Linked DNA regions of Homo sapiens: regions 1, 3 and 4 are each linked to region 2. Evidence: promoter capture Hi-C in 16 types of primary human blood cells and fetal thymus (Javierre and others, 2016). All regions are on one chromosome and are shown on one strand. The core of a region is centred on a gene start or on the middle of the fragment in contact, and the rest is flanking DNA. Distances in the headings are between cores, read along the strand shown. Region 1 has its middle 25 kb from the start of RIPK4. Region 2 holds the start of UMODL1-AS1 (UMODL1 antisense RNA 1). Region 3 has its middle 39 kb from the start of RSPH1. Region 4 overlaps PRDM15 (PR/SET domain 15).

Region 1 (5,609 bases), core at 2,397-4,896, 320 kb after region 2:
ATTCTCCGTGCCGTCACCTCAGTAACCCTTGAAGGTGTACATTCTACAGTGTGGCCCACACACCAAGCCCAGCGTCCTCCCTTGGATCCTGAGAGCTCTCTGAATACCCACAGATCCTTTCTGCAGCCTCCAGGTCTGTAGGGCCTGGCCCTGCTTCCTGCCAGCCAGTCTTCCTTCTCACCCGCCACCACCCCTCACCAGGGTCTTGCATCTGCCATTCATACTGTATGGAGGGGCTCACACAGGCAATTCAATTGTCTGATCTAAACATTTCTGCTTCTGACCCTGATGGGGTAGGAACTAGACTTAACTCTTCTGCTTGAACCAGCTAAAAAGCCCAGACACGGCCGGGCGTGGTGGCTCATGCCTGTAATCCCAGCACTTTGAGTGGTCGAGGTGGGCAGATCACTTGAGGTCAGGAGTTTGAGACCAGCCTGGCCAACATGGTGAAACACCGCCTCTACTGAAAATACAAACATTAGCCGGGCGTGGTGGTGGGCGTCTGTGATCCCAGCTACTTGGGAGGTGAGGCACGAGAATTGCTTAAACCCAGCAGGCAGAGGTTGCAGTGAGCTGACATCGCACCACTGCGCTCCTGCCTGGGTGACAGAGTGAGACTCGTCTCAAAAAAAAAAAAAAAAAAAAGCCCAGACACAATATATGGCCATCAGGAGTGAAGACAGTGGTCCCTGAGAGATGAAAAACAAGCCAGGTGAATCCCATGACTGCCCAGCATATGGACTGGAGAGACTTCCCAGGCCACAGTGCAGAGAGGGAGACAAGGCAGGGCACAGCAGTCCCTGAACTGATGAGACAAAGGTAAGGTCCAGGACGGACAAGGTAGCCAGAGTTCTCAGGGCAGGGTATGGGGGAGGAGAGGGCTGTGCAGAGACAGCGCCAGAGCTCAACAGAGGACCCCATGACTCTCAGCTGAGTACGGACAAGCACGCATGTGAGGAAGTGACCTGTTCCCAGCATGCAGAGAGAAAAAATTCTCTAATTTAGGGAAATTTGGGCAGAGTTCTCAGAAGCATTTTGCCTAAAAATGAGGAGAAATGACCCCTAAACCTTACTCTGGTCCCACTGAACAAAGCTTCATAGCAAAACGTGGAAAAGATCAAAGTGTTTCCAAGACGCTTCACTGAATCCCAGAACAATGCTCAAGGATATTTTATAGAGATACAAGAACACCTCACACCCAGCAATGCAAAATCAGGACAGCACCCAATCAAAAATGACCACGCATGCAAAGAATCAGGAAAATACAACTCATGATAAGGAGCAAAATTAACCCATCAAATCTTCTTGGAAATGACAGAATTGGTAGACAAAGATAAGAGAAATTATGACTGTTTTTCAGATGTTCTAAAAGCTAGAGGAATAATTAAATAATTAAACCTGTTAAAGGCATGAAAGATGTAGTTTTTTAAAAACAAAATGAATTGAACTTCCAGAGATGAAAATTTCAGTGATGACATGACAAACATACTGGATAGTATTCACAGCAGGTCAGATATTGCAGAAGAAAAGATCAGTGAAGCTAGGGCAATAAAAAAAAAACTATTCAAAATAAAATGCACAGAAAAAGAAGAGGGAGAAAATGAACAGAGCATCAGCGAGCTTTGAGATAACTTCAAGCAGCCTAATATATGTTATTAGAGTTTTTGAAGAGTCCTTGGAAGAAAAGGGAAAGAGATGGAAAAAAATATCTGAAGAAATAGTGAAGCCGGGTGCAGTGGCTCATGCCTGTAATCCCAGCACTTTGGGAGGCCGAGGCGGGCGGATCACGAGGTCAAGAGATCGAGACCATCCTGGCCAACATGGTAAAACCCTGTCTCTACTAAAAATACAAAAGTTATCCCGGTGTGGTGGTGCACGCCTGTAGTCCCAGCTACTCGGGAGGCTGAGGCAGGAGAATTGCTTGAACCCGGGAGGTGGAGGTGGCAGTGAGCCGAGATCGCGCCACTGCACTCCAGCCTGGGCAACAGAGCCAGACTCTGTCTCAAAAAAAAAAAAAAAGAATGAGCAAAATGTTGTCAAATTTGCCGAAAGCCATAAAACTACATATCTGAGAAGCTCAGTGATCACCAAGCACAAGAATCATGAAGAAAACTATGTTAAGGCATTTACTAATCAAATTGCTGAAAACCAGTAATAAGGACAAAAACCCGGAAGAATCCAGAGGAAAGACATATCACATACAGAGGAACAAAGATAATGATGACACGTCAAATTCACATCAAGGAGATGCAAGCCAGAAGACACTGGAGCAACATAGGGAAAGCATTGAAAGCAACTGTCAGGATAAATTCTATACCCAGCAAAAATATCTTTCAAAAAAGAAGGCCAAATAAAGGGGTTTAGATAATAATCCTGAAAGACACAACCCTGAACACAATATTCCCGAATGTTGAAATCTCAGAAGATCAAAATCCCTAAAGGGTAAAATCCTGAAAATCACAATCATAGCATAGTTGCATCATGTTAAGTAAAACTATCAGCTTATTGTCTTTATTTGGAAATTAAGTATGGTCAAATGAGATACCTATGTGTGCCAAGTTGACCAGGGTTGGCACATGTGGACTGAATTTTAGATGTCAACTTACCTGGATTGAAGAATACCTAGAAACCTGGTAAAGTATTCTTTCGGGTGTGTCTGTGAGTCTCCTGGGGAAATTATTGTGCAAGTCTGAGTGGACGAGGTGAGCAAGATCTGCCCTCAATGCTGGCAGGCACCATCCAATCAGCTGGGGTGCCCGAGAGAACAAATACAGAAGGCAAGTTGGTCTATCTCTGAGAGCTTGGACAGACGTTTCTTCTGCTGCCTTGGACATCAGAAAATGTTGAAACTTCCTCAGTAAATGAAGAGATGTTCTTTTTGTACATTTGCATTTGTGAAAGATAAAATTTATCCAGATTTCGGCTCTTTGGGCAACTACATGCAGTGGTGACCCGTCGGGGGTTTTGATTGATCTTGTTGAAAGACACTTTGTTCGTTTGGTATTTCAGATGACCACAGTTAGAAAGCTGGGTGTGCGCAATTACCGATAGTGACATGTGTTTTTACCTTTCCGTTTTGACCTATTTCTTTATGAATGTGGTTCATCTGGCCAGGCGCAGTGGCTCACGCCTGTAATCCCAGCACTTTGGGAGGCTGAGGCGGGCAGATCACCTGAGGCCAGGAGTTCAAGACCAGCCTGGCCAACATGACGAAACCTCGTCTCTACTAAAAGTACAAAAATTAGCCAGGCGTGGTGGCATGTGCCTGTAATTCCAGCTACTCAGGAGGCTCAGGCAGGAGAATTGCTTGAACCCAGAAGGCAGAGATTGCAGTGAGCTGAGATCGCACCATTGCACTCCAGCCTGGGCAACAAGAGCGAGACTCCATCTCAAAAAAAAAAGAATGTGGTTCATCTGCTCATAACCTGTGCGACTGTCATTAGTTTACCTGAGTGTTTACGCTTGCAAAGTATATGTTATTATTATCACCTATTTTGTTGTATAAAGTGGTCTATGAAGTGTGCAGTCCTGTTTTGATATGTTTCTGAACTGCAATATCTTTTAAATGTTTTTAAAAATTATTTTTTCCAGAATTATATTTTCAGGATTTTGATCTTTTGGGGTTGTGATTTTCAGGTTTGATCTTCTGGGATTTCAGCGTTTGGGGTTATGGTGTTTGGGATTGTGTTTTTGGGGATTATAATCAGCTCCCCAATTAAAGACTTTTCCAGACACACAAGGCTGAAGGAGTTCAGTGTCAGTAGCCTGCAGTGCGAGTTCTCTTTAAGGAAGTCTTCCACGCAGAGCGAAGGTGATAGCAGGTGGGAATCTGGACCTGTCCAAGGACACAGAGAACAATGGAAATGGTAACAATGTGGGTAGATTCAAATACTTTATTATCTTATCAGTTAAATATATTTAAAAGTCAAGCAAAAGTAAAGATGATGTATTATGGGACTTATAATATAGAGACCTATAAAATGTACGAGAGGCCATGTGTGATGGCTCACACTTGTAATACCAGCATTTTGGGAGGCTGAGGCAGGAGGATCACTTGAGGCCAGGAGTTTGAAACCAGGCTGGGCAACATAGTGAGACCCTATTTCCACAAAAAAAAATAAAACAAACAAAAAAAATAGCTGGTGTGTAGTATGTGCCTGTAGTTCCAGCTATTCAGGAGGCTGAGGTGGGAGGATCACTTGAACCTGGCAGATCAAGGCTGCAGTAGGCGATGATTGTGCCACTGCACTCCAGCCTCTCCCATCCCTACCCCATTCCCTAGCCCCCGATCCCTCCCCCATTTCCTAGCCTCCCCATCCCTCCCCAATTCTCTAGTCTCCCCATCCCTCCCCATTCCCTCCCCTCCCCCATCCCTCCCCCATTCCCTAGCCTCCCTGATCCCTCCCCATTCCCTAGCCTCCCCCATCCCTCCCCGATTCCCTACCCTCCCTGATCCCTCCCCCATTCCCTACCCTCCCCCATTCCCTAGCCTCCCTGATCCCTCCCCAATTCCCTACCCTCCCCAATCCCTCCCCCATTCCCTCCCCTCCCCATCCCTCCCCCATTCCCTAGCCTCCCTGATCCCTCCCCATTCCCTACCCTCCCCAATCCCTCCCCCATTCCCTAGCCTCAGGCAATCACCATCTGCTCTCTACCTCTATAATTTTGTCATTTCAAGAATGTTATATAAAATGGAATCATACATTCTATAACTTTAAAAAATATGGTATATTTGTCTATCAAGGTATTATTCTTTACATGTTAACCATGCTTTTTTTTTTTTTTTTTTTTCTGAGACAGTCTCACTCCATTGCCCAAGCTGGAGTGCAGTGGCACAATGCTGGCTCACTGCAACCTCCACCTCCCAGCTTCAAGCGATTCTCCTGCCTCAGCCTCCCGAGTAGCTAGGATTACAAGTGCGTGCCACCACACCGGCTGATTTGTGTATTTTCAGGAGAGACTGGGTCTCACCATGTTGGCTAGCCTGGTCTCGAACTTCTGACCTCAGGTGATCCGTCCACCTTGGCCTCCCAAAACCATGATTTTTTAATGGAAACTTTTATTGAGATAGCAGATCACATAAAACCAACTTTTACTGAGATAGTAGATTCACATACAGTTATCGAAAATCATTCAGAGAGATCTCTTATACTTTGTCTGGTTTCCCCCAGCGGTAACAGTTTGAAAAACTATTGTACTAGATCACAGTTAGATTTGACTTTGATATAATCCACTGGTCTTATTCAGATTTCATTTATACCCTGTGTGTGTGTTTGTGTGTGTATTAGATTCTATACAATGCTGGTGTATCATTGTGTTGGTCTGTTTATCTGCCCCACGTCAAGATACCAAATGTATCACTTTTTGAGATTGGTTTTTCCTTTTTTTCTTTTGTGTTTGTTTTTGAGACAGAGTCTCCCTCTGTCACCCAGGCTGGAGTGCAGTGGCTCAATCTCAGCTCACTGCAACCTCCACCTCCCGGGTTCAAGCGATTCTCCTGCCTCAGCCTCCTGAGTAGCTGGGATTACAGGTGTGCGCCACCATGCCCGTCTAATTTTGTATTTTTTTAGTAGAGACTGGGTTTCACCATGTTGGCCAGGGTGGTCTCA
Region 2 (6,089 bases), core at 2,040-4,539:
GAGCATTGCTAGCAGCCTGCGACTCCACGGCTGCAGGAGCTTTGCCCCAGAGGCTCACACAGGCTATGGGTCCTATTAGTCCTAGTCCCCATGCACCATTCGAGGAACTCACCACAGGCGGGGGTCTTCAGAGCTGTGAGGGTGGAGGTCAATGGCAGGTCTACAGAACCGGAGGGTCCACTGTCCTCATTTCGCAGCCACGTGGGATTCAGAAGTGTTTCCCGGGTGGAACGGGTGGCATGCCACAGGAAGTGGCCGGTGGGGTCCTCAGTAGGGGAAGGCCAGGAGGGTGGCTCCATGATGGAGTTTCCCTGTAGCTGTCCAGGGAGGGCCAGTGGGCCATCTGTGGCCCCAGGAGGGAAGCTGTGGGTTGACCCAGTAGCCTTCGGGGAGGAGGTGGTGCCTATCACCCCGATAGTGTTCCTATGGCTGGGGCTCGCCTGGCTGGTGCTCCCCTGGCTGGGGCTCTCCTGGCTGGGGCTCCCCTGGCTGGGGCTCCCCTGGCTGGAGTTCGCGTGGCTGGTGCTCCGCTGGCTGGGGTTCACCTGGCTGGGGCTCCCCTGGCTGGTGCTCCTCTGGCTGGGGCTCGCCTGGCTGGTACTCTCCTGTCTGAGGCTCCCCTGGCTGGGGCTCCCCTGGCTGGGGTTCACCTGGCTGGGGCTCCCCTGGTCCATCCCCAGACCCGGGGCAGTGCTGGGCACCTCCTGCTCCACGCCTTTTCCTGTGTTGTTCCTGTCATACCCGACCACATTGCTGCCCCCTCTTCTGGGTGAGGGCTCTGGGGTCCAGGCCTGGCCTGCTGCCGGGGTGCCCTGAGGGTACCCAGGACTGGGTGACAAGGTGAAGTTCTCTAGGCCGAGGGCTGCTGTTCCCGTGCCAAGACCTGGGACCGTTACCCCTGTTGCCGCAGACAGTCCACCGCCCATGGGGCTCACCAGGTCACCTGCCAAGACACATCCACTGTCAGAGCCTGCTGGATCCCACCCACGAGTAAGAGCCCTCCCAGGAGGGCAGCATGGCCGTCCAGCAGGACTGCTCTGCATCCCGGAGTGGACCTGGCCAGGGACGCAGGCGGGCGCCAGCGTTCAGGAGTGTTTCCTGGGCCCATGTTTGCAGCCTCCCCGGGGCTCTCTGAAGGCAAATCACGCCTCTCCACTGGATAAATGAGGAAACTGAAGTTGAGGGTGAGGGATCCACCCGGGGGGCTACAAAACCCGGGCTTGAATGCAGGGCTTGGTTCTCATAGGCCTCAGATTAATCCATCAGGACTCTGGGAAAATGGGACAATTTCCCCCAGATTTGTGCTCAATGTGGGACTTGGTGCTGGATGCTGTCATCGACTTGCAGGACATTAGGCGAATGAGAAAAACAGAAGACAAGGTGTGGGATGTTAGGAAGCAGGACAGCACACGCAGTGTCTAAGGAATATTCTCCCCAGGGAACTGGTCTCGGCTGCTCCTTCCAGCTAGAAAGCCCTCAGCAGGGGCTGGCAAGCCAGTGGCTGGGCGCCTCTGCCACGCCTGTGTCCGGGCCGACATTGCTAATCAGTCACTGCATTTTAGGTCCCTACGTGGCCTCCTCCTGCTGCTCAATTCAGCATCCCAGGTATCCCCGACCCACTCATCAGAACTGGTCCACAGAAAAGACTGGGGGCCGATACAGCAGGACTAGAGCTCAGCGGCCCCCATCGGGCCTCTCTGCAGCTTCTCTGGGCTTCCACACTGTCTCGGGCTCCAGGCCACACCCTCTCGGGCTCCAGGCCACTGGGGAAGGAATCCCTCGACCCCGGGCTGCATCCTGACTTCTGTGGGCCCAAGGAACTTGGCCTTCATGGACCCCTGCACCCCTCCACTTAACAATCTATCAAAAATTACATTTTATAATGGCATTTAGATAGAGATGAGTGTAATCCAAGCTAGATTCATTGTTTTATGTATATTTACTATCCTTCTATTAATTTCTTTCTTCTGATTTTAAAATAAATTGAAATGAAAACATTTCTGTAGGCCCCTAACATTACCATAGGTCCTCAGCCCTGTGCCTATGGAGAATTGGGCTTTGCCCCACCCCCAGATTCTCGGGCAGGGGGTCTTCCCAGAGTCGGCAGGGGGGTCGACACGTACCCTCACAGGCCCGGCCTGCGCGGGAGGGGGTGGCGTCCCTGGTGGTACGGCACTGGCAGGTGTAGGAGCCCTCCAGGTTGATGCACCAGGCAGCCGGTGAGCAGTCGTGTTCCGCGCTGTCCACACACTCGTCCCAGTCTGCCAGGGGGAGACACAATCAAAACCCATGAGAAAACAGCCAAAGAGTGATCAGAAGACAGACCCATGCTGGAAGGAGTCCTTCCTAGCCGTCTTTGCAGTGAACGGCCGGGAGCAGGGGCATTTTGGGGCATCCGTCCAACACTCTCATGACAACCTTACGGCCTGCCTGTGCCCACCTTCACATTGGTTGGCTTATTTGGGGGCAAAGATTAGGAAATGTTCATTCCTTAAATATTAGCACCCATGGGTGTGCATGTAGCCCTCTCTTCTTTATTCTGTTTCCACACCCAAAACTTGAAATGTTTTCTCCTCTCTCTTTGATGTGCCAACATTCTCCAATACTTAGTGTCTCAACCAAGAAATAGGAAAGTAACTGAGCCAGGGGTGGGGACACAGCTGAGTATAACGTGAACTTTCCGCATGGGGGGTGGGGGTCCAGCGGAGTATAACACCAGCTTTCCACGCCGGGGGTGGGGGTCCAGCGGAGTATAACACCAGCTTTCCACGCCGGGGGTGGGGGCCAGTGGAGTATAACATGAGCTTTCCACACCGGGGGTGGGGGTCCAGCTGAGCATAACACCAGCTTTACATGCCAGGAGTGGGGGTCAGCCTGAGTATAACATGGACTTCTCTCGTGGGGGGGGTGGGGGTCAGCCTGAGTACAACATGAACTTCCCACGCCGGGGGTGGGGTCCAGCGGAGTACAACATGAACTTCCCGCGCCATATTCTAGAGCACCCGGGTGTCTCCACAGGTATGTCCCTCCTCCTGTGCCCAAAGACTTGTGATGTCATGTCACCGGGGGGCCCGCCTGAGGGGAATGAAGGTGAGGACAAGGACAATGTAGCTCCCATGGGGTGGCTGAGCCGAGGTCGTCAGGGCCAGGCCCTGCTGGAGGTGACAGTGCCTTCTGCGCGTGCTTCTGTAGAGCTGCGGGTGGAGGTGCTCGGGAACGAACCCACACCCGGCATGCCAGAGAAGTTCCAATTCAGGTGGAATTTAAGCCACGATGCAGGACCAGTTCAGTTCTGGGCAAAGAAAACCCTGCTGCTGAGTGCTCTGAGGCTCGTTTTGTGGGTTTTTTTCTGTTGTGCTTCCTGCGGTCTCCACAGAAGCAGCTTCCCTGGAGAACAGCAAGCTCGTCAGCTGCCACAACAGCTATGCCACCACCCTAGCATGGCCTGGGGGCTGCCTTGCCATCAGAACACTGCTGGTGCCAACCCACACCTCTTCCTGGGGTGCTACTCAACCTCCAGCCTACAGGTAACTCTCCTGGGGGTGCTCCGGGTTGGGGTTGGAGCCTAGGCTGGCTGGGCTGCAGTCCACGGAGGACAGCAGAGGCACCAGGCAAGACGCTGGCTCAAACCACCAAGCACCTGATGTCTATTTTGGGGCGTGGTGATTCACCTAATCTTCACTCCTCCGTCCCCCCAGACAGCTCCCAAGCGAGCTCAGAGGAAGGCGCTGACAGCTGTATTTAGTCTTGCATTAAGCCTTGAGGCTTGCCGGCCCTCCAGTTCAGAGGAAGAGGCAGGTGTGGGAGCAGGAAGAGCTGCCAGTGAGCCTCTGCACCCTCCCGGGCTGGCCAGGCGAGGGCGCAGAGCCAGCGAGAGCCCAGGGCAGGACGCTGCACACTGCTCCCACTGGCCCCGCAGCTGGGACAAGGGCTGAGCCCTCTCCTGGAGCAATGGGGGCAGCTGCTTCAGAGACTCCCAGCCCAGGTGCCCCTCCTGAGCTGGCCCCACCCAGAACAACAAGCTGGAGAGGGTCCAGGAGCAGGTACAGACCCCAGATCTCCTGGGCCACCCTGTCCCAGCAAGGTGCAGGCTCCTCAGTTGGACCATGAGCTGTCTTTCAGGGCCCAGGGCGTCCTCCAGAAGTGATGCCCCTCGGACTCTCCTGGGGGCGTGTGTCAGATTCACACTGGGAGAAAGAGGGCACAGAGCACCTCATCCTAATGCCACCGCAAATGGACGCTGGACAAATAGCGGTACCCGTGAACCTAAGGAAAGGAAGCAGCCTGCAGTAGGTTAGCCTGGCCAGCAGGTGAGGGGGATGGTGACAGCCCTAGGCCAGGATCCTCACTCACGGCCCTTCTCTCACTCTGCAGAGGGGATGGAAAGGGCTCGCGCAGTGGCGAGGCGGGTGGGAGCAGGCAGCAAACTGGAAGCTTTGGGGAGCTCAGCTCCACCTACTCTGGCCCCAGGAAAAGCGGCGTTGATTCCAGAGCCCCAGAAGACCCACAAGGCCTCTTACGCAGAAGGATGCCGGTGGGAGTCCTGCTCCTCTGGCTAAGGTCGGTGCAGAGGGTTCACAGCGGTGCCTCATAGAAGCCCAGTGATGACCCTCACTCTAGAACAAATGCACACTGTATGAGAATCTCTCCTGAGAGCAGATGTTGGGAAAGAGAAGGAATAGGGGCCGTGCTGTTAGGAGCAAGAGATTGAATGGAAATGATGTGAGGGGTTCAAAAAGGAGCCCCGTGAGGCGGAAGGACCAGTGGGAACCCAGGGGTTGCTAGGAGACCTTCCTAGATGAGCTCTCATCCAAGATATGAAAGTTAATCCTGGAAGAGTTAGCCCTGAACGCTGGAGGGGCCATCAGAAATGCACTGTCGCCATGCACAGGCACTGGGCTAAACCCACACAGGCATTGTGCCTTAATTTACTCCATCGCCATAGGAGGTGGGATGTTGCTGTAATCTCATTCCACAGATGAGTATACTGAGGCCCAGGGAGAGGAAGTCATTTGTGCAGCATCCCACAGTGAGTGAGTGTCAGAGCTGGGATTCCAACCCGTTCCGCCTCACTCTAACCTCTTCCTATGGGGCAAAGTGAGCAGGAGGTTTGGCCGCCGCTGTGAGGGTGCAACTCATAGGCGCGGGGGGCGGCTCAGCCTCCAGGCCTCCCAGCACATGGTACGTACCTCCTGGGGAAAGACCGAACACATGGCCACCTACACAGCCCACCGTGACTGGCGCAGGAAACCCCAGGCCCCGGGATGGACGGCCTAAGGGTAAAGATAAGGTCACGACAACCTGACCCCTCCACGGGCGAACAGCGCCTCATCTATCGGGGTTGGGACATGTGGACGCACCGGCAGGGAGTGCTCCTGAATGACTGAGGAATGCTCTAGTTGTGCCAACAACATTATTTCTAGGTGGACCACAGCGCAAATACCTTTTCTTCTTCAGAGGAGCTCTTTTTGTGTTTTCGTTTCTTGTTTTTTTTGCCGAGTAATATCAAATGTCTTCTTCTACAGATCCTCGCCGTGAAGGTGGGGCTCTCAGCGGGGGTGGATGTCCCCCTGTAAGCTGGGCTCAGGCCTCGTGCTGCCTCCCCAGGCAGGGGCGGTGCCCCATGGTTGCTCCCCCGACTCTGGCGTCCGAAGACACCAGTAGTCATGGAGTCAAAAGAGTGCAGAGGCAGGGCCGCCTCCCCGGCCATGCACGGCCTGAGGCGTCACCATCACTGGCCACACAGCTGACCCCCCAGCTCAGGAGACCTGCCCGCACCAGCACCTCAGCTCTGAAATGTGGAGGAAGCAGGCCACAGCCTGCCCGGGACCCTGCCGGGCAAGAGCCTGCAGAAGGAGCTTAATAACTTCTGCAGGACCACTGAACAGCGTGGGGAGTGGGGTGCTGCGAATGCTTACAATGGATTCATCCAGTCCTAGAGGTGCAAGACACGGGTCTCCTGTGGCTGCCATCACAAACACACCAGCTGGGGGGCCTGAAACAGCACAGATGTATTCCCGCCGTTCCGGAGGCGAAGTCCAAACTCCAGGTGTCAGCAGGGCCGCCCTCCCTCTGGGGCTCTAGGAAAG
Region 3 (5,624 bases), core at 2,935-5,434, 350 kb before region 2:
CACAAAGCCACTTCCCCAAGAGAAATGATTCTCAGGTTGAGCTGCATCAGAATCACCTGGAGAACCTGTCCAATCACAGATGGCTGGGCCCCATCCCAAATTTCGGATCCACGCCTGAGCATGTGCATTTGCAGCAAGTTTCCAGTGGGGACAGGTGCTGCTAGTCCAGGGGCCACATTTTGAGAACCATCAGCTTTCACGGCTCAGTGTAACAGTCGTCCAGTTCAAAGACTGGTAACTTCCAGGTTACATCAGCGTCACAGTTAGCTAGCTCTGTGATCTCTGCGTGTTGTATAATTTCTTCATTGCAAATCTCACATGTTGCCTTGAGGATTGCATGAGGGAGTGCAGGGAACGAACTTCGTTTGACACCTCCACGTGGGAAGCCCCTACCTGGTAGTTATTGGTGCTGCATGGTTAAATCCACTCAGTTTCATTTTATCCACTTGCAATCCAGAACACAGCTGCTGCGTAAGATAAATTTATTTGAAAACAATTTTCTAGAACTTGGATTTGTAAGAGTATGTAAAACAGAGTGTGGAAGGCCAGGTTTCACTAACGCAGGCCTCCATAACAACTGCTTCAGTACTGACCGAGTAGTTAAGTTAAATATTAAAAGCTAAGAAAAGCCAGTGCCCCTATACAAAGGCTGAAATGTAACAAAAGCCCACCAAGGGTTTTGCCCAGGCCTTTCCTGGGCCTTAACGCATGACAAAATAATGAAAGAATTCTTAACAGGACCCATTTAGGATTAAACAAGTTTTACTGGGGTTAAAAAACTCCCCAGGCTTCCACAAACAAGTTTATTGGAAGTCTGAAGGAACTCCCCAGACCTCCAAGATTTAGCAGAAGTCAAGATAAGGGTAATCACCCCAGCACCTGGACTCATTTAGATAAGTAAATTTACTGAGGCTGCAGAGGAAGGTCTTCAGGACTCAGACATTAGTTACAGATTAAAATAAGTTAATCACTTAAGTCTTCAGATGAATGCACACTTACATGTAGACATAGAGCTTAGAAGGTATACAAGCTCTGGAAAACTTTGTAATTTTGAGTTGGTCTAGTGATAATTTCCAGGCCTTCTCCCTGTAACTGGTTTCAGAAATAAAAACTCTCCTCCTCCCCAGTTCATCTGCATCTCATTATTGGGCCACAAGAAATAGCTGCCCGACACTCAGCCTGGTCCGGGAACAAGAGTACACTGCATTCCCGGATTTTACTGCTTTTTGCAAATACAATAAAAAGGAGTGCCCACAAAATTAGAAACTTTGACAGATTAGAGGCTATATTAATATCATAAAGAGTGTTATAACTAGGTTATATTAGTTTTACCACCACAATAAAAACAACTATTGAAATAGAATGATACACAACTAAACTCTGGGGATTATTTTATTCACTTTTAATATGACCACAGTTTATGGAATGGGGACTATGATCAAACACTGCGTATGGAGTCAGGCTTGGGCAGGAGTGGGGGTGGCTATGTGGAAGGAGCATGGAGTAGTAAACTCATGTTGCATCCCTGCAACGTCATGGCAAGATATGTATGTGAGTAAATAATAATACAGCAGCCAGGTGTGGTGGCTCATGCCTGTAATCCCAGCACTTTGGGAGGCCAAGTTGGGTGGATCAGGAGGTCAGGAGATTGAGACCATCCTGGCTAACATGGTGAAACCCCGTCTCTACTAAAAATACAAAAAATTAGCCGGGTGTGGTGGTGGGTGCCTGTAGTCCCAGCTACTCGGGAGGCTGAGGCAGGAGAATGGTGTGAACCTGGGAGGCGGAGCTTGCAGTAAGCGGAGATCATGCCACTGCACTCCAGCCTGGGCAACAGAGTGAGACTCCATCTTTAATAATAATAATAATAATAATAATAATAATAATACAGCGCAGAATGAAGAGAGGTATGTGGAAGAGGGACTGGAAGGGGGTTGGTGGCTAAGGGACGGAGGAACCAACCTGAGCTCATGTAATTACAACCCTAGACTGCCTGTGCCACTTCGAAATCTGGCTCCTGTGTTGTGCGAACATGGTAAGAGTGTCGCTTTCAACCAACGCCCCAAAATGTAGACAACTCAGAAATTAACAGAATCATCCAAATACCCTAACCATCATAAAGATATATGTAAAGTGCTCTATCAGTTGCCATTGGCTATGGGTTCAGGGAACACTGGCCTCTCTGTGCCTCACCCGGTGGGTGTGACAAGAGCTGGCCCTCCGTGGGGCCCACGGGAAGCCCTTGGGCATTGGTACCAGTAGCCTAATATCCCAATCTAATTAAAAAATTAAAAACATGTTATATCAGCTTTCTTGAAGTATATTTTGTAGACAGTAAAACATCCATTTTAAGTGAACAGTTCAATGAGTTTGGACAAATGTAGGCAACCATGTGACCACCTAATATGGTTTGGCTGTGTCCCCACCCAAATCTCATCTTGAATTGTAGCTCCCATAATTCCCACATGTTGGGGAGGGACCTGGTGGGAGATAAGTGAATTGTGGGGGCAGTTTTCCCCATACTGTTCTCGTGGTAGTGAATGAGGCTTGCAAGATCTGATGATTTTTATAAGGGGCTTCTGCTTTCGCTTGGCTCTCATTCTCTGTCTTGCCTGCTGCCATGTATGATGTGCCTTTCGTCTTCTGCCATAATTATAAGGCCTCCCCAGCCATGTGGAACTGTGAGTCCATTAAACCTCTTTCCTTTATAAATTGTCCAGTCTCAGGTATGTCTTTATTAGCAGCGTGAGAACAGACTAATATACCACCCTACAATCAGCACACAGATTCCCGTCAGCCTGAAAATATCTTCGTGCCCATTTGCAATCCATTCCCCTACTCCCAGCATTAAGCGTCTGATGTGCTGCTTTCTGTCACCACAGATTGGATTTGTCTCTAAATAGTTGTATATAAATTGAATCATGCAGTACATCCTCTTTTGCTTCTGGTTTCTTTATGCTACTATAAGTGATGTTTTTATTTTACTTACTGATTGTTCACTGCTAACATAACATTTGTATTCCGCCTCTGTCCCCCTCTCTGCTGTCTTCTCTTCACCTCACGTATTGGCAGAGGAGGTGTTACGTGTTCACTGGCTTATTAGTCCATTGCTCACCACCTTCCACTGAAATATAAGCTCTTTGAGAGTGAGCTTGTATCTGATCCACTGCTGCTTTCCCAGCAGTGTTAATGGCACCCAAACATTCCCTCATAAATGTCTGTTGAGTGGATGACTGAGGCGCCGGACTCCACACTTGAGGGCTGAGGTGAGGAAGGACGAACTCTTCCCAGTGCTGAGCCTGAGGAGGGAGTGTGGGCTGAGGAGGGGGCGTGGGCTGAGGAGGGAGCGTGGGCTGTGGAAGGGCAGACAAGACGGTGAGCTCATGGGTCTCATTGGCGGTCAGGAGAGGGTCCTCTGTAACAGAGGCCTCCAACCCCTGTTGGGAACCAGGCTGCACAACAGGAGATGAGCAGTGGGTGGATGAGTAAGTGAAGCTTCGTCTGTATCTACAGCCACTCCCCATTGCTCTCATTACTGCCTGAGCTCCGCTTCCTGTCAGATGAGTGGTGGCATTAGTCTCATAGGACTGTGAACGCTACTGTGAACTGTGCATGTGAGGGATCTGGGTTGTGAGCTCCTTATGAGAATCTAATGCTTGATTATCTGTCACTGTCTCCCATCACCCCCAGATGGGACTGTCTAGTTGCAGGAAAACAAGCTCAGGGCTCCCACTGATTCTACATTATGGTGAGTTGTATAATTATTTTATTATATATTACAACGTGATAATAGAAATAAAGTGTGCACAATAAATGTAATTGCACTTGAATCATCTCAAAACCATTCCCCACCCCCACCCCACCCTGGTTTGTGGAAAAATTTTCTTCCACGACACTTGTCCCTGGTGCCAAAAGGCTGGGAACTGCTGCTCTACAAGAGGGCCAGCTGCTGCTGGGCTGTGAAACCCACTGAAAAGAAGGACAAATACCAGGTTTTTGGTAATGGGAGGACATTACCAGGGCAGAAATGCCCAATGTGAAGCTCAACTGCACATGTGAATTTGACTGGACTGCAGGGTGCAAAGACGTTTTGACCCAGTGTCACTCTGGGGGTGTGTGAGGAGGTTTCTGAATGAGACGAACATTCGAATCAGGAGACTGTCAAGCAAACGGCCCTCCCCAGGGTGGGTGGGCCTCATCCAATCAGTTGAAGGTCTGAATGGAACAAAAGGCTAAGAGGAAACTCCTCATGTCTGACGGCCTTTGAACTGAGGCATTGGCTTTTTCCTGCCATTGGACTTGAATGAAAACATCGATTCTCTCTGGGTCTCGAGCCTACTGGCCTCCAGACGGGAGGCCAACAGCTCCCGCAGATCGTGGGGCTTCTCAGCTTCTGTAAGAGTGTGAGCCAATGCCCCTCTCTCCTTCCCTCTCCCAGCCTGTATCTGTATGTTTGTATCCGTATGGATGTGGGTCCTGTTTCCCACTGGCTGTTTCTCTGGAGAACTCTGGTTCCTGCCCTCTGTTTTGTTGTTTGTGGCTCTAAGTCACGGTATGTTAAAGTTCAGGTTTAAGAGGATGCGGGCTGCCATGTCTAAACATGTGGGCATAAGTACAAAAATCCTTACGTCATCAGATTGTGTTTCATCATATGGGCTAATTTCTTTCCTCAGGCTAAGCTGCAAGTTCTTGTCTGGAGTCGAAGGACCAATAATATCGCCTTCACCTGCCCCCTCCTGGTCCACTCACCAGGATGCCAGGCGGGACTTTTGCACCACCCTGACTGTGAGGCAATGCCCTGGGGATCCTGCTAAGACACAGCTGCTGACACGGAGACGGGGGTGCCTGAGGCCCTGCATTTGTAACAAGCTTCCAGGCAATGCCTGTAATCCTGGTCCTCGGTCCAGAGTTTGAGAAGCAAAAAAATAAATAATTTATAGGGCCCCTTGCCTCTCCTCAAAGTCTGGTTATATTTTCTAGATAATAAGTGCTATCAGTACCTCGCAAGGAGAACAAAATGGCTCAAGGATAGCTGGAGGCAAAGAAAGTGCAGTGTGTCTTCCAAAATCACTAACTCAAATAAACGGGCTGCCTCTCCGGGGAGGCTCCTGGGAGGAGAGTGTGCCTTCGGTGAGCTCATTCGCAGGCGTTTCTCCTTCGGGATTTACGTTGCTTTCGTGCTATAGCTTCTTTGGAAAATTGCTTGGTTTATTGTCCTAACACAGTTTTGTCTCACTATGGGACACAATGAAAGAGAATGAGTTAATGGTTGAAAGAAATACATTTTGGAGAGAGAAGGAGAAACATGACATTTCCAGATGATTAATTTTTTAATGACTTCTTGGAGAACTTTGTTTGAAGACTTCACCAGGAAGATTGCATGTATACATGTGTGTTTCTTAATCCATTTTTGTGGCCTTAAGTCCTAGGAAAAAATGGTACTGGACAGCCGGAAGTGGCATTTACTTGGAACCACACAGGAAGAAGTACATCATAATTCTGGGAGTTTGCTGTGGCAATTTGCAAAGGCCTTTCACACAGCTGGACCCCTCTCACTTTTCATGAAGAACCCCCCACGCGCCGGCAGACAGCGGCTGCACACACATTCAGGAGATTGCAGGAAA
Region 4 (6,376 bases), core at 3,765-6,264, 280 kb after region 2:
TTATGTGACTGGCTTATTCTACCCCGGCTCATCCATGTGTAGCCTGTGTCAGAATTTCCTTCAACACTGAGTAATATACCATCATGCATATGCCCCATATTTTGTGTTTCCATGCATCCATTGATGGACAGTTGGGTTGCTTCTAGCTTTCGTGACGCTGCTGTGGTAAAATACTTTGCTATTTGAATTTCAGTAAATATAACAGCTTGCCCTGTGTTTTAGTTACGATTCTTGGGTCATTTTTACCATGGAGTTGAGTAAGTTGGTGGTCACTTCTTTTTGGCCCTTTTCGGATCACCTCTTATAGTTGGCAAAAGTAATATCAGAAATGATGTTACCTGTTTATTTATTTATACTTTATCTTATTGCCCAGAAGAGTTCAGGTGGCTTACCATCAAAAATACATTTAACAGGGAAAAGAAGTTTTGAAAATCAGGTTCAGATAATATGTAAAACAGAGAAGAGTTAAGACAGAGTGACAGGAGCAGAAAACAGGTGTGGTTATTCTAATTGAGGCACAAATTGACCTCCAGGCTTTCTGGTGGCCAGAGTTAGAACAGAGTCAGGTGTGTGGCTGTTGCAGCTAAAGCTGCCTAATGTCATTATATATTCAAGGTGTCCCTTTCAGATGCCCTGGAAGCTGGGAGTGACGCCCGGGCGCATTCCCTCCTTTCTCGCATACAGGCTCGGGATTAGCTGGGAAGTTTTGGAAGGAGGCCGTTTTCATGCTGCTTGTAACCTGGAACTTTTTTCCCACCTGTCTTTTCCCAACTTATTGACGTCCCTGGGCAGGTTCACCCATCATCAGAATAACACCATCACGCTCAAGAGGAGCTTAATTCTCTCAAGCAGACACGGCATCCGGCGCAAGCTCATCAAACAGCTCGGGGAGCACAAGCGGGTTTACCAGTGCAATATCTGCAGCAAGATCTTCCAGAACAGCAGCAACCTGAGCAGGCACGTGCGCTCGCATGGTGAGTCCGCGAGGCCCGGCTGGCGCCCGGGGCCAGGGCCAGGACTGGGGCTGGGGGTGGGAGGACAGCACGGAGTCTCCCCTCCTTGGGTCGTCTCCCACGAGCTGCGCCAGTGAGAGGCTGCATTTGTGGGCGATCATCTCTGCAGCTCCTTCGCATGGTGGGAGCGAGGCGGCTTGTGGGGCATTTCCCCGGTGGGCATGCTTCTCTCGGTAAATGCTCTAAGTAGTGAATGAGCTCTCTGTTGGTTGGTTCCTCAGGTGACAAGCTGTTTAAGTGCGAAGAGTGTGCAAAATTGTTCAGCCGCAAAGAGAGCCTAAAGCAGCACGTTTCCTACAAGCACAGCAGGAACGAGGTGGGTGGAAACAAGCCCAGGGTTCTCTTCCCAGTTGTGTGGACAACACAGACAACTGACCAAATCACCATGTTGTAATGAGAAGAAAGAATCCCAGGAGGGAGGAGAGTGGGCGGGGGCTGTGGGGGAGGGAGGAGAGTGGGCGGGGGCTGTGGGGGAGGGAGGAGAGCGGCCAAACCCTGTGGGGGAGGGAGGAGAGTGGGCGAGGGCTGTGGGTGCCCAGGTGTCCCTGAGAAGGGAGAGTCCCAGGAGGGATGAGAGCGGGTGAAGGCTGTGGGTGTCCTGGCGTCCCTGGGCCACCTGTCAGCCCCTCGTCCTGGTCAGATGCCCACAAGCGCAGCAGGAAGAGTCAGGAGAATGGGGGTGTTTGGTGCTTGGAGTGGGGCTCCCTGAGTGTGGAGTTCCCTTTCTAGGGCAGGTGAACAGCAAGAGCAAACATCCTTTGTGTTCCTAAATAGAGCGGGAGGGTGGTGGAGGTCAGAGTCATAACAGACACAGGCGTGGAGTCGCCCGGGCAGCACGTCGGGGGCTCGGCATCTGTGGACTCTGCGCTGGGCCATCTCACTCACGGCGTGTCCCTCTGACCAGGTGGACGGCGAGTACAGGTACCGCTGCGGCACTTGTGAGAAGACCTTCCGCATCGAGAGCGCGCTGGAGTTCCACAACTGCAGGACAGGTGAGGGCGCCGGTCACGTCTCCCCTCGGCCGCTGTGCGGTACGGATTCTAGATACGCCGCGGAGACCGTGGAACTTTAGGCCAAAGTAAAGATTGTTTTCATGAATAGACAGCCTCACTTTTAACATTTCCCTCTGTCCATTTTGCTTCAAAGCAGTTGTTACCCTAAAGATACACAGATGGAAACTTTCCAGTAAAAAGGGATTGATTTTCTTCCTGCATTTGTCAGCCGAGCTGCGTATGGCCCCACACTGAGAGCATTGTAAAGCCGGGGTCCGTTCTGGCTAAAAACAGGGAGCAGCAGTGTCCAATGTTTTCTAGGGCCGTCTGAGGAAGAAAGGAAAAGATCAGGATAATGGCTGGAGGAGTGTGAGCGCTCCTCGCTTGCTTGCAAAGGTTGTTCCTAACCGCGAGCCCTCCTCCATCCACATCTCCTGCGGCGTCCAGGGTGGAACGGGGTTGCCCCTGCACGCATTCTTTTTGTTCTGAGCCTGCTTGTGTGCACCAGCTTCCAAAAATAAAGCATTTTCCTTGTGTGAGGCCTGAAGCCGGGTGTGCCTGGACCAGCCTGTAGTGGAGAGGTGGCCTCTTCGGGCCTGGGGGGCGTCTGAGGCCCCTGTCTCTCTGGCCGAATTTGCTGCTGGCAAGTAAACAGACCAAAGGAAAGCCAAGGCCGTCCTGCCGGCTGCGCTTCTCCACGTGGCCCGAGGACGCCCCTGTATTCTGCAGTGATGACGTGCACCCTCTGGGATGTGGGAGTCACACCTTCCCCATTCCCAGTGGTGGGTGGCACTGGAGGCCCAAGCAGTGGGGGTCCCCAGCGGGGCACAGAGGGGTGAGTCACTGTTGCCTTTGTGTCCCCCTCTCTCTAGGACTCATAGCACACCCTGGAGAGGGGGGGCCCGGCGGCAGTCGGCTTAGAGACCTACCAGGTTAGCCTTCGACGCCCACCCCGTCCTTGTCCGCCTGCTCTGTGTCTGTCACTTGCATCTCTGTGTTGTTCTTGTTAAGGTGCCACCCGCCCCTGTGTTGAGAACAGGGCACCTGCAGCAGCGGACTCCCAGGGGCTCTGACCAGGGCTGTCGCACATGGGCCATGTGAGAGGCCCTGCTCCCTTGCCGTAGCTGCTGGGCGCGGGGGGCCCTTGGTGGGGTTGGCTAGTTCTACTCTGAGGGCTCCTATTTGAAACCAGGGTTTGGTTCTTCCTCCCTGATGCCTTCTTCCTGGGGTTGGACTGTTCTGAGGGGCAGGAATGAGTCATGTTTTGCCTAAGCTTTAGCAGCTCTGAAGGATCCATGTCTGGCATGAGGTGGCCTCCAGAAGCTTCTGGATGAATTTCCAGTGTGCCGCACCTCCTGCATTTTAAGCCCTCCTATCACAAGAATTCCCAAGAAACCTGGGGCACAGTCCCCTGAAGACTTCCACTTAACGCAGCCCCGGCCAGACAGATGAACCTTCATCTTGTTTGCGAACCTCCCCTTGGGGTCCCCGCAGTCCTGCAGGAGTGTAGCAGGCGAGGGTTTCGGGGTTCCCAAGAGTGATGCTACCAGCTAAGGCGCTCTGGTGAGGCAGACTCAAGGTTGAGGAAGAGGCATTGCCCTCTGATATTTTCAACTATTTCTCTGGACCCAAATAAAACAAAGTACTAGAAGCGGCTAAGGCAGCAGCAGCTTCCTGTCAGCCAGAGGTGCTGTTAGGCCAGGTGCTGGCCTTTGTTAGTCACCTAGAACCCGCAGAGCGCCAGGGACCTGCATCGCACCACCTCTTCCCCTGAGATGTTCTAGTTTCAAAGGTTACCCGTTTTAGACTGAACAGAAAGGATAAAAACCTTGAAATGGAGCTTGTTTGCATAATATATGATTTGCATGCTCTTATACTTATTTATAGTATTGAAGTTAAGAGAATGTGTATCTTCCTTAGACAATTAAACCAAGAATTTGTACCAAGAATTAAACCAAGAATGTGGGAGTCACGCCTTCCCCATTCCCAGTGGTGGGTGGCACTGGAGGCCCAAGCAGTGGGGGTCCCCAGCGGGGCACAGAGGGATGGGTCACTGTTGCCTTTGTGTCACCCTCTCTCGAGGACTCATAGCACACCCTGGAGAGGGGTGTGGGGGGCAGTTTTAAAATGTTACAGTCTTGTGGGTTTTTCTGAAGCTCCCTCCATGGGACCTGTTGTGGTGCCTGTCCCTTGTGGTGTGACCAGGTGCTGGTGTAACTCATCTTCGTGTTCCTTGTGCTGTGTCTGACCATAAGTACTGTGCTACGGAATAGCAAAGGCTCACGTCCAGGCCCTCAGGCAAAATGCGGCCCACCAGCCTCCCCCAATAATCCCCTCTCCATCCCCAGGTGCCCTGCACCCCTCTCCCTTCGTCAGACCCCAGTAGGCAGCTGTTCTCAGTGGCTCATTTATTCAGACATAAACCTAGATCCCCTCGGCGCAGGGTTATTGGAGGGAGAAGCATTGTTGGGACCCAGTGCCCCTGTGGGTTCCTGAACTGGCAGTGAGTGGGTGGCTGCGGGAGAAGCCACCCTCGGCTTGGCAGAGTTGTCCGGGACAGCTGGGGAGTGGCCTGAAGTAGGTTCTCTTTCCATGGTCACGAGGGGCTTGTGAGGGAGAAAGCTGAAGCTCTTGGCAGCACCATTGCCTTCCACGGGGCGGCAGGACTAGTGGAGCCACCTGCCCAGGAGGGGGTGCTCATGGGTGCTGATTTGCACCTGCCTGGGAGGGGGGCTCACTTGTATTGGTTGGTACCTGCCTGGGAAGGAGGCTCACCTGTGCTCTTTAGCACCTGCCCGGGAGGGAGGCTCACCTGTGCTCTTTAGTGCCTGGCTGGGAGGGAGGCTCACCTATGCTGTTCAGGAGGCCCAGGTTGAGGGGAGTGTGGCAATCCAATGCCACAGCACTGTAAAGGTGTGGCCTATGGTGATCCGTTGCCACAGCACTGTAAAGGTGTGGCCTGTGGTGATCTGATGCCACAGTGCTGTAAGGTGTGGCCTGTGGTGATCCGATGCCACAGCGCTGTAAGGTGTGGCCTCTGGTGATCTGATGCCACAGTGCTGTAAAGGTGTGGCCTGTGGTGATCCGATGCCACAGTGCTGTAAGGTGTGGCCTGTGGCAATCTGATGCCACAGCGCTGTAAGGTGTGGCCTTTCACAAAGCGCTTGGCTCTAGTGGTCCCATTCCTAAGAATTCATGATAAAGAGATTTGACAGAAGAAAAAAATCTGCATTACTAAAGATTCCATCACTAAATTATCTACAGTGTCAAAAATAGCAAAGTGAGTTTTGAGAAGTGAGCTGGATGGAATATCACGTAGCCATTAAAGTGATCATGAAAACGTCCAGCACTGTAAACACGCACGCCTCAGACGCAGTGTGTGAAGGACACATACCATGCGGTCGTGTGGATCCGGACAGAGCCCATCAAATCTTAAGCCAAAACGAAACTGAGGGCAGTGGCTGTATGGATAATGTTTCACTTTATAGAAGGAAGGCAAGCAGTATGTTAGGCTGGGACTCAGCGTAGCATCTGTCACGGTGCTCCTCTTATGGCCCAGGTGAGGCTGGCTCTGGGCTGAGGTCACGCTGCAGGTGGGGTGGGATGTGGGCAGAGAAGCCTCGCACAGGGCCACCTCTACTGTGTTCAGCCCTGGCAGAGGCCACCTCCCACTGTCCTGCCGTGGTTGGAGCTGTGGGAGGGGACTGTCCCCTCCCAGCGCTTCCCCTGTCCTGAGGGTGGCACCCATGGGGCATAGATTTCCCCACTGCTGTCTCCTGTCTTCGCTGTCGGCCATGCCTTGTCCATTCCCAGCTGGGAGGAGTTGAGAGCGCCTGGCTCTCCCGGGGGAGGTTGTCTGCTTCCCTCACCCCCAACCTGGGCTGCACATTGGGATCACCTGAGTGAGGCCAGACACATGCGGAGGCCCAAGGCCCACCCCAGAGAGTCTCATTTTGTGAGCCCTGGCCAGTGAATCTCTACCTGGCGGGGGTGGAGAGTGGAGGGCGTTTGCCCCAAGGGACGCTGTCGGCAATGTCTGCAGACACCTTGGTGGGGAGGGGTGCTCCTGGCACCTACTGGGTGGAAGCCCGGTATCTGCTCAGCATCCCACGGTGCACAGGGTGGCCCACAACAAAGGATCTGGCCCAAAACGCTGAGGCAGGGAAACCCTAGACAGGGGGACCCTGAGACACTCTGTGGCGGCTCCCTCGGGCAGCAGAGAGGGACAGGCGCAGGGCGGCTGCTTTGCACAAATGGCAGCTTTCAGTGCAGTTTTGGGGATTTGTATATTTGGCAAACACTGAGCCTGGGAGCTGGTCCATGGGTGAGAGCCCAGGGGCCCAGAAGTGCAGTCTGCTCTGGTGCCCCGCT

What was found. The method cuts DNA at HindIII sites, captures the fragments that hold promoters and counts their contacts. A CHiCAGO score of 5 or more calls a contact.
Region 1: a contact is called between a fragment that was not itself captured here and the fragment with the promoter of UMODL1-AS1 in region 2, in 3 of 17 cell types (erythroblasts, monocytes and endothelial precursors). The highest score is 6.1, in erythroblasts.
Region 3: a contact is called between a fragment that was not itself captured here and the fragment with the promoter of UMODL1-AS1 in region 2, in 1 of 17 cell types (M0 macrophages). The highest score is 5.2, in M0 macrophages.
Region 4: a fragment that was not itself captured here is called in contact with the fragment with the promoter of UMODL1-AS1 in region 2 in 1 of 17 cell types (total CD8 T cells); the score reaches 5.7 in total CD8 T cells.

The regions. Positions count from the first base shown.
Region 1 is chr21:41,789,575-41,795,183 of GRCh38, reverse strand. No RefSeq gene overlaps it. Among named protein-coding and RNA genes, the nearest start is that of RIPK4, 25 kb to the right of the region's middle. The HindIII fragment of the contact is 5,101 bases long and covers 1,096-5,609 here.
Region 2 is chr21:42,105,734-42,111,822 of GRCh38, reverse strand. It overlaps UMODL1-AS1 (UMODL1 antisense RNA 1), which reads left to right and starts at 3,289. Exons shown (of 2, transcript NR_027243.1): 1 at 3,289-3,527. UMODL1 (uromodulin like 1) reads right to left here. Exons shown (of 23, transcript NM_001004416.3): 10 at 2,124-2,261; 11 at 702-943; 12 at 113-317. RefSeq lists a silencer at 3,750-4,044 and an enhancer at 4,021-4,140. The HindIII fragment of the contact is 14,881 bases long and covers 1-4,436 here.
Region 3 is chr21:42,454,484-42,460,107 of GRCh38, reverse strand. No RefSeq gene overlaps it. Among named protein-coding and RNA genes, the nearest start is that of RSPH1, 39 kb to the left of the region's middle. The HindIII fragment of the contact is 1,374 bases long and covers 3,498-4,871 here.
Region 4 is chr21:41,831,066-41,837,441 of GRCh38, reverse strand. PRDM15 (PR/SET domain 15) reads left to right here. Exons shown (of 24, transcript NM_001040424.3): 9 at 793-974; 10 at 1,235-1,329; 11 at 1,918-2,005. Among named protein-coding and RNA genes, the nearest start is that of PRDM15, 45 kb to the left of the region's middle. RefSeq lists enhancers at 471-1,178, 2,994-3,113, 3,894-3,963. The HindIII fragment of the contact is 3,368 bases long and covers 3,331-6,376 here.